3 separate regions of the Homo sapiens genome follow, and regions 1 and 2 are each linked to region 3. The links are contacts of gene promoters, found by promoter capture Hi-C in blood cells and fetal thymus (Javierre and others, 2016). All regions are on one chromosome and are shown on one strand. Each heading gives the region's core, a stretch centred on a gene start or on the middle of the fragment in contact. The rest is flanking DNA. Distances are from core to core; before and after follow the strand shown.

What was found. The method cuts DNA at HindIII sites, captures the fragments that hold promoters and counts their contacts. A CHiCAGO score of 5 or more calls a contact.
Region 1: a contact is called between the fragment with the promoter of ZNF287 here and the fragment with the promoter of LLGL1 in region 3, in 1 of 17 cell types (activated CD4 T cells). The highest score is 7.5, in activated CD4 T cells.
Region 2: a contact is called between a fragment that was not itself captured here and the fragment with the promoter of LLGL1 in region 3, in 1 of 17 cell types (endothelial precursors). The highest score is 6.0, in endothelial precursors.

The regions. Positions count from the first base shown.
Region 1 is chr17:16,567,926-16,570,625 of GRCh38, reverse strand. It overlaps ZNF287 (zinc finger protein 287), which reads left to right and starts at 1,422. Exons shown (of 6, transcript NM_020653.4): 1 at 1,422-1,674; 2 at 2,697-2,700. RefSeq lists enhancers at 1,358-1,857, 1,858-2,359. The HindIII fragment of the contact is 2,931 bases long and covers 1-2,591 here.
Region 2 is chr17:16,550,245-16,552,944 of GRCh38, reverse strand. It overlaps ZNF287 (zinc finger protein 287), which reads left to right. Exons shown (of 6, transcript NM_020653.4): 6 at 1-2,700. The coding sequence ends at 1,089. Among named protein-coding and RNA genes, the nearest start is that of ZNF287, 18 kb to the left of the region's middle. The HindIII fragment of the contact is 1,063 bases long and covers 856-1,918 here.
Region 3 is chr17:18,224,385-18,227,084 of GRCh38, reverse strand. LLGL1 (LLGL scribble cell polarity complex component 1) reads right to left here and starts at 1,450. Exons shown (of 23, transcript NM_004140.4): 1 at 1,322-1,450. The coding sequence starts at 1,402. RefSeq lists silencers at 989-1,158, 1,309-1,788. The HindIII fragment of the contact is 4,006 bases long and covers 1-2,260 here.

The sequences.
Region 1 (2,700 bases), core at 173-2,672, 1.7 Mb after region 3:
GATTACAGGCGTGCGCCACCACACCAGGCTAATTTTTGTTCTTTTAGTAGAGACGGAGTTTCACCATGTTGGCCAGGCTGGTCTCAAACTCCTGACCTCAGGTGATCTACCTGCCTGGGCCTCCCAAAGTGCTGGAATTACAGGCGTGAGCCACCGCGCCCGGTCCAACTTTCTTTTTGTTAAAATTTTCCTGGTGTGGTGATATTAAGAGTCTTTGACAGTCCTCCTCCACCCTCACAGGATTCTGCCTCCATTTGATTCTCTGTAGGCTTGTGATTGCTTTGACCAAGAGTCTGACAGAATTGGTGTTAGGTGACTTCCAAGGCCATGTTATAATTGGCCATGGCGCTTCTCTCTTGTTCACTGGAATGCTCACTCTTGGAGCCCAGAGCCACCATGTAACAAGTCCAGCTGCCCTCAGTCCTTTATGCTGGAGAGACCACATTGAGGCACTCTGGTCAAACACAAGCCGAGTTCATCTTTTAGCCCATCTCCTCCCAAGCAGTAGACATGTGAGTGGAAAAGCCATCTTGGAAGCGGGCCCTCCCAGCCATCAAATCATCCCAACAGAGGCTACAGACATAATGAGGCAAAGGCCCACCCACTCAGTTCCCCTTTCAAATTCCTCACCATGAAATTTATGAGCATAATACGGTGATTGTCCTTCAAAACCACTAAGTTTTGGGGTGGTTTGTTAATAGAACAGTAGATAACGGGAACACCTTGAATATGTTTTTCTATGCTTTTATTTTTCCAGTGTTTTATGTATTTTTGTTTTGTGTCTCTTAGAAATAACAGCTACTCGGGAGGCTGAACCCAGGAAGTTCAAGTGAGAATCACTTGAACACAGGAGAATCACTTGAACCCAGGAGGCGGAGGTTGCAGTGAGCCGAGCTCGCACCATTGCACTCCAGCCTGGGCGACAGAGCGAGACTCCGTCTCAAAAGAAAAAAAAGAAAGAAAGAAAGAACATGGGTTTTTTTCCCCCAATCTGAGAGTCTCAGAATCAAATTCCTGAGGAGGAAGTGAAAACCTTTCACAGTTAGTATGTATGCACAGTAAAGCCCGAAACCGCACATTAAGTCTTTCTGCCTTTAGACCCACATCTTCCCTGCCCATTCTTCCTCTAGGAAATCTGGCGCCCAGTTTTCTCTGCGTAGTTGGCGCGGGGCTTCAACTCCCGGCGCTCCTCCAGCTACTGGCACCTCCCTGGCCTCCAAGACGTCTACCAGACCTGCGTCTGCCCGGGGAAACTTTGAAGTTCCCTTCGGAACCTCGCAGGCTGACAAGCAAGTCAGAGCGATGGGTGGAGGAGGTTGCCATGGAGACAGGTCCAGGGCCAGAGGCGCGGGAGGGGGAGGCGGCAGCTTGGGCTCCGATTGGCTCTGCGGGCGCGCAGCGTTCCTCTGGCGCACATGCGCAGTGACGCCGAGGCGAGGTCGCGGCTAAGCAGAGGCGCCGGGGTTTCTGGGCCGGGCTTCTCAGGACCGGGCTGGAACGTGCAGCTCCTGGCCGGGACACTCTGTGCTTTGCGGGGAAGGGAAGTGGCGGAGCCCGAGGATCCGCTGCCGCTCGGGACTGAGCCCGCCACGCAGGCGCCTGTGCCAGCGTCGCCATTGTTGCCTGTGGCCTTAGGGCCGCTCCGGCTGCCCGTCGGCCGGGTCCCAGCGACAGGTATTGATGTCCGGGCGCAGCGCGCGAGTGTCCGCGCGATCAGTGACAGCCCGAGCCCGTCCACGCGCGGGCTCCCGTGCTCGTGGCTTGCGGGAGGGCAAAGACGGGGTGGAGGCTGCTGTGGGCCCAGTCCCAGCGTTGCGCGTCGCACGGTCCCCGACTCCCCCGCTGCCCTCGACCTCGACCCTGCGGCTGAAGAGGAGTAAGAGGCAGAGGGACTTGGCCGGGAAGGGGAGGCGACAGGAGGCAAGGCAAGGCTGTCGCATCACCTCCGCAGGGCCTTGTAAACAGTTGTCTTTGGTGGCACGACTGTGCCTCAGCAGGGCTCGGAGCTGGAGCCTGGGGAGAGGTGGTGTCGGTTCTCCTCCAGATCAGGCCGGTTCTAAGGTTTCCTTCGAGAATCCTGGTTTCGAATATATCCCTAAAGAACTGTCTCCTATAGAAGCACTTAAAGGACTTGAAGTCACACCAACCTCTTCACTCTTTTCCAGTCCAACCCGCTGGTCTTCCCAACCCTCTGATAGTGAAAGGCTAGAATCGGCTGGCATTAACATGCAACGCAGATAAATGGCTCGCCCTTTCCCCTGACAGTTCCCTTGGGAACCTTGAGCACTGTATTAAGAAGAAATTCTCCTAGTTTCTTCCAAGTAACAGATTCACTTTGTTATTGTTGAGAGTCCGTTCAGTCATTACAGCTTCTGTAACATCAGTGACTAAAATAATGAAACTATTTTCTCTATAAAAATGTTTAATTTTTGTTACAACAGGTTAGAGGTTTAATCTGTTGTTTGGCTTAGATTCGAGTCATTGCCTCTGACACTACCTTTTTAATAGCAGCTCCATCCCCCACCAACCCCAAGCAGATGGCAGTTCCCTTACAAGTCTAAGGATATAGGGGAGGAAGACAAGGTAAAGCTTATGTGTGTTCATCTATGCACACTGCGAGTCTGTTTCTGTGTGTGTATATGTATAGTAGAGTACACCAGGGATTCTTGACCTTGTGGTCCATGCTTGTGTTTCAGGGTC
Region 2 (2,700 bases), core at 138-2,637, 1.7 Mb after region 3:
GAATGTGGGAAAGAGTTTAGGCATATCTCATCCCTTATTGCACATCAGAGAATGCACACTGGAGAAAAACCATATGAATGCCACCAGTGTGGTAAAGCCTTCAGCCAGCGTGCACACCTTACTATACATCAGAGAATTCATACTGGAGAGAAACCCTATAAGTGTGATGACTGTGGGAAAGACTTCAGTCAGCGTGCACACCTTACCATCCATCAAAGGACACATACTGGAGAGAAACCATATAAATGCTTGGAATGTGGTAAAACCTTCAGTCATAGTTCATCACTGATTAATCATCAGAGAGTTCATACTGGAGAAAAACCTTATATATGCAATGAATGTGGGAAGACTTTCAGTCAGAGTACACACCTTCTTCAGCATCAAAAAATACATACTGGGAAGAAACCATATAAATGCAATGAATGTTGGAAAGTGTTTAGTCAGAGTACTTACCTTATTCGACATCAGAGAATTCATTCTGGAGAGAAGTGTTATAAATGTAATGAATGTGGAAAAGCCTTTGCTCATTCCTCAACCCTTATTCAACATCAAACCACTCACACTGGAGAGAAATCCTATATATGTAATATATGTGGGAAAGCCTTCAGCCAGAGTGCAAATCTTACTCAACATCATAGAACACATACTGGAGAGAAACCATATAAATGCAGTGTGTGTGGGAAAGCATTCAGCCAGAGTGTGCACCTTACTCAACATCAGAGGATTCATAATGGAGAAAAACCCTTTAAATGCAATATATGTGGGAAAGCATATAGACAAGGCGCAAATCTTACTCAGCATCAAAGGATTCATACTGGAGAAAAACCCTATAAATGTAATGAATGTGGGAAAGCTTTCATTTATTCCTCATCACTTAATCAACATCAGAGAACTCATACTGGAGAGAGACCCTATAAATGTAATGAATGTGATAAGGATTTTAGCCAGAGAACATGCCTTATTCAACACCAGAGAATTCACACAGGAGAGAAACCCTATGCATGTCGTATATGTGGTAAAACCTTCACCCAGAGTACAAACCTTATTCAGCATCAACGTGTTCATACAGGTGCCAAACATCGTAATTAATGGATAAGGGAAACTTCAATTCGGTTTTACAACTTTGTTTCAATTTTGTTTTGTGCATTCTATGTGTCAGAACATTCAGAAGAAGTCTGAAGAAGTGCAATATGTTAGATACTCAGCAGAAGTATCAGAAGTAGTGGTATGGATATAACCTATTTAGATTTAATGTGAAATTTAAGAAGGAAACTTGACTTCTTAACCTTAATTTGATATGATTTTAATTCATTACAGAAAGAAACCCTGTGAAGGGTATTCAAAAACATAACTCATCAACTCTCTATTTCAAGTACACTTATCCTTTGGTATACTCGGGGGATTGGTTCCAGGACCACCCATGTATACGAAAATCTACCCATACTCAAGTTGCACGGTCAGCCTGGTGGAACCTGTGTATATGAAAAGCCCTACATCTATGCAGGTTTCCCATCCCTGAATAATGTGCTTTCAAACTCTGTTCAGTTGAAAAAAAAAATTCCAGTATAAATGGATCTGTACAGTTCAAATGTGTTGTTCAAGGGTCAACTGTACATCCTAATGAGGCCTTATGAGTGTAACTTAGGAAGGTGTCCATCAAATAGAGATTTCACACTAGAGAGTGATCTTAAAATTACAGAAAAGAGTAAGCTGCTTTCAGGCCTTTTATTCCCAGCTTTGAAGCCTTAAAATATGTAAAGGACTCCCTTCCCTGTTTTACTTCCCCTTCTCCTGTTATGCCATAACTGCCATATGGAGCCAGTAGGTTTGAAAAAAAAACAGTTGGAAGTATCTTAAAGATTTCTATGTGACCACTGGTTACACCTTCCCTCAGATATGGAAATATTAAAGAGAAGCTTAATGAAAGATATGTTATGATAGAAACTAATGTGTATATAACATTAGATGTGTAGAGATTTAGTTAAACAGGCAAAAATTAAATGCCTCAAGCTTAAATGAATTTTCAATACACATTAGCCTTGATTTCACTAGGTTTTGACATTCAAGGTCATCCTGAAGGAAAAAAGTAGGTATAAAGTATACAGTTCCCATTTTTTTCACCTGACTCCTAAATTTATACTTTAGGTTTCTCTGTGACTGTTTTACTATGGAAAGTTCATTTCTTCCACTGAAACACGTTTCTTGAGTGTCTACTATGCTCAGGTCCCAAACTTCCTAATTGGATCCTCTCAAGCTTGTTACAGTGCTGAAAATCACAGGTGGTTTACACAACAGAAAGATTTCTAGAGTGATGAGAAAGTGAGGATGTGATATTTTGTCATGGGTTGAGCATAAGCAACCTGCTAAAATGGGTTGCCAAATGCTACCTATATCCCAAGAGAAGGAAGTGGAAGTGATAGTGTAGCTATATAAATAATGTGAGAAAAAAATGGAAAATAGATCTGAATTCACTGCAGAATGTGGGTCGGGGAAAAGGTGAAATTTTAGTGGAGTGAGGAAAACATACATAGATAATTGCTATAACATGAAATGTAATTGGACTTGCTTTGCCTATGAAATGAGAGTGGCTAAATAAAAAAGAATTCAGCCTGGTTATTAGAAGAAACTAAAAACAAAATGACCGATTTTTAAAGAATAATTGGAAGCCTGACACTCCTTCATACATACAAGTAAAACAGA
Region 3 (2,700 bases), core at 201-2,700:
CGCCTGGCACAACACTGGCCCAGGACCACAGCAGCCCCTTGGAAAAATCCCTGCCCCTCAAGGCTAAAATCCAACCCCACTGACACAAGAACTCAAGAAAGATATTGGTGCAGCTCACTCTGACTCCGGGCAAGCCGTCACCCCTCTCAGAACCTCAATTTTCTCACCTGTATTTTGAAGATAACTCTAATTTCGAAGAGCACTGAGAGGCTCTGCCATCAGTGGGCTCTGGGGTAAGAATGAGGACAAAACCAACGTCCCCAGAGCAGTGAGCCAGGAGTGGGCTGAGGCCCTGCTCTAACATCAGTGCAGAGGGAGGCGGGGGCTGAGGCGGCCCCTTTCCCTGGCCCCTAGTGTCCCACTCCGGGAAAGGAAGGAAAAGCCTCCACCTCACTCCACCTTGGTGCAGAAAGGCAGGACAGCTGGCCCATGTGGCAGAGGGAGCCAGGGCCCACAGTATGGAGAAAAGTAGCCTCATTTCACAGCTAGGGAAACTGAGGCCCCACGATGCGAAGTGCAGTGTAGTACACAGCCAGGCATGTCCCCTGGACTCGGAGCCCCGGGCAGGGCAGAGCAGGGCAAGGCAGAGCCTGGAGCAGTGGGGGAAGGAAGGAGAGGCTCCTTGAAGGGATTTCCCAGCCGCACCCCCCACAGCTGCCTCGCCCCCACTAACTCTCTCACCCTCCTGGGTGCCAAAGCACAAAACAAACCGGGCCCCAGGGCTGTCCCAAGGGCCGAGCAGGGACGCAATGGAGCCCCTAAGAAAAAGGATAAAGAGACAGAAGTGAGCGACAGAGGTCGAGAGACTCCACAGAGACAGAGAGAGAGACACGCAGGGAGAGACAGGCAAAGAAGACTCAGAGACGCACAGGCAGCAAGAGAAATGAGAGGCAGAGAGATAAAGGGAGACAGGCAGAGATAGGAAGGGGCAGAGGCAGAGACACCCCCACCACACACACAGGCACAACTGGGGCGAGACAGCCGGTCAGCGGCGGAGAAAGAGGGACAGAGACCCAGAGACAGGCAAAGAGTCTCAGAGACAGACCCCCACACACACAGACTGGCAGAGCCAGGGCCAGAGCGGCCCGCAGAGACTCGGGGAGCAGACACGGAAAGTCGGCCGGAGACCCAGACCCACCCAGAGTCCGAGCCAGAGCGGGGCCCGCCGAGGGGGTGCGCGGCCCGGCCCGGCCCCGCCCCGCGCCGCGCTGCATGCCAGCCCCCGCCCCCCGGGCCCGACGTGGCTCCGACCCCGGGCCCCCAGCCCAGGCCCCCGTCCCGCCCCCTCCCGCCCGAGCCCGGGCCCGGGCCGCCGCCGCACCTTGTTGAAGGCGAAAAGCTCCTGCTTGAGCTTCTCGCGCTGCGGGTCGGCGCCCTGCCGCCGGAACCGAAACTTCATCATCTTGCGCCCGGCTGCAGGCGCCTCGCCCGCCGCCGCCGCCCGCAGGATGCGCCGCGCGGCCCCGCGGGTCCTAAGGCGCGGGCGGGGCGCCAGGCGGCCCGGGCGCGGGCGCGCGGGGCCGGGCCTGCACGGGGGTGGGCGCCGGGCGCGACGGACGCGCCGCCCGACCAGTGAGCGAGCCCGCCGTGCCGCCCGCCCCGCCCCTGTTGGCCAGACAATGGTGAACTGGGCCCCCGGGCTCGGCCGGGCTCGCGAAGGGACGCCCGCCTAGCATGCGCCGCGGCGCGGGGCCTGCCGGGACTTGTAGTCCATGAGCCGGGGCTCCAGCGCGGGCGGCTGGGGAAGCGCTTTGGAGGGGGATTGGCGCACGTTCCCGGGCTTGGAGGAGACTTTTTCCTCCTCCCAGAGAGCGAGCGACGTGCCCACTCATGTAATGGGGCAGCCCTGTTCCGAAAGCCAAGACAGCTCTGACTGGAACAACTCCCTGGCCCCTCTGCGCCTCAGTTTCCCCATCTACACCATTGGTCAAGTGATTGCCAAGTTTATATTTTACCAATTTCACAGAACTCCATTTCGTCTGTTCCCCGCTCTGTCAGAGCACCTCCCACCGCCGTGCTTTTGCCTTGGCTTTGTAGTCAGGAATTCTTTCCTCACCCCCAGCCCCTGGGGAACTCCTACACATCTTTCAGGACCCAACGCAAAAGGCTCTGTGTCACAGCACAGGGGATTCTTTCTTAGCCAAAGAAAGAGACGGGATCCCCAGGAGGTGGCATTTGGGACTGTTCTGGGGTTGGATTGGAGCTTTACGGAGATGGGGGAAGGACCTCCCCCCGCAGAGAACAGCGTCTGAACAAAGCTTAGCCCTGCCCCTACTCTCAGGGGCCGTCTGCCTGTCCCCACCCACCTCCCAGGCCTTTTCTCATCTGGACAATGGCCTCGAGGCTGAACCTTTCCTTCCAGGCTGAGGATAGGCCGCCTGGCTCAGGGCTGGGGCTGCGGGAGGTCCTAGAAGCTTAGGTGGGGCAGGTAGGACAGGCCCCAACCCCACCAGCTGTGTCCAGGGAGCAGGAGCTGACCTCTGAGCCCGAGGCGGCTGCCAAGCCTTGGGGCCTGGCTGTCCCCCTCCACCCACGCCAGGCCGGCGGTGTTCAGCCCTTCCCCGTATTTGGGGCTGGATCCGGAAGAGGGCCCAGGAGTGAGTGAGGAGGTGAGAGGAGGGAGAATGACGACAGTAAAGCCCCTAAGTGTCTACTGCGGGGCAGGCGCTGTTCAAAGCCCTTTCCTGGTTTCAGCTGACT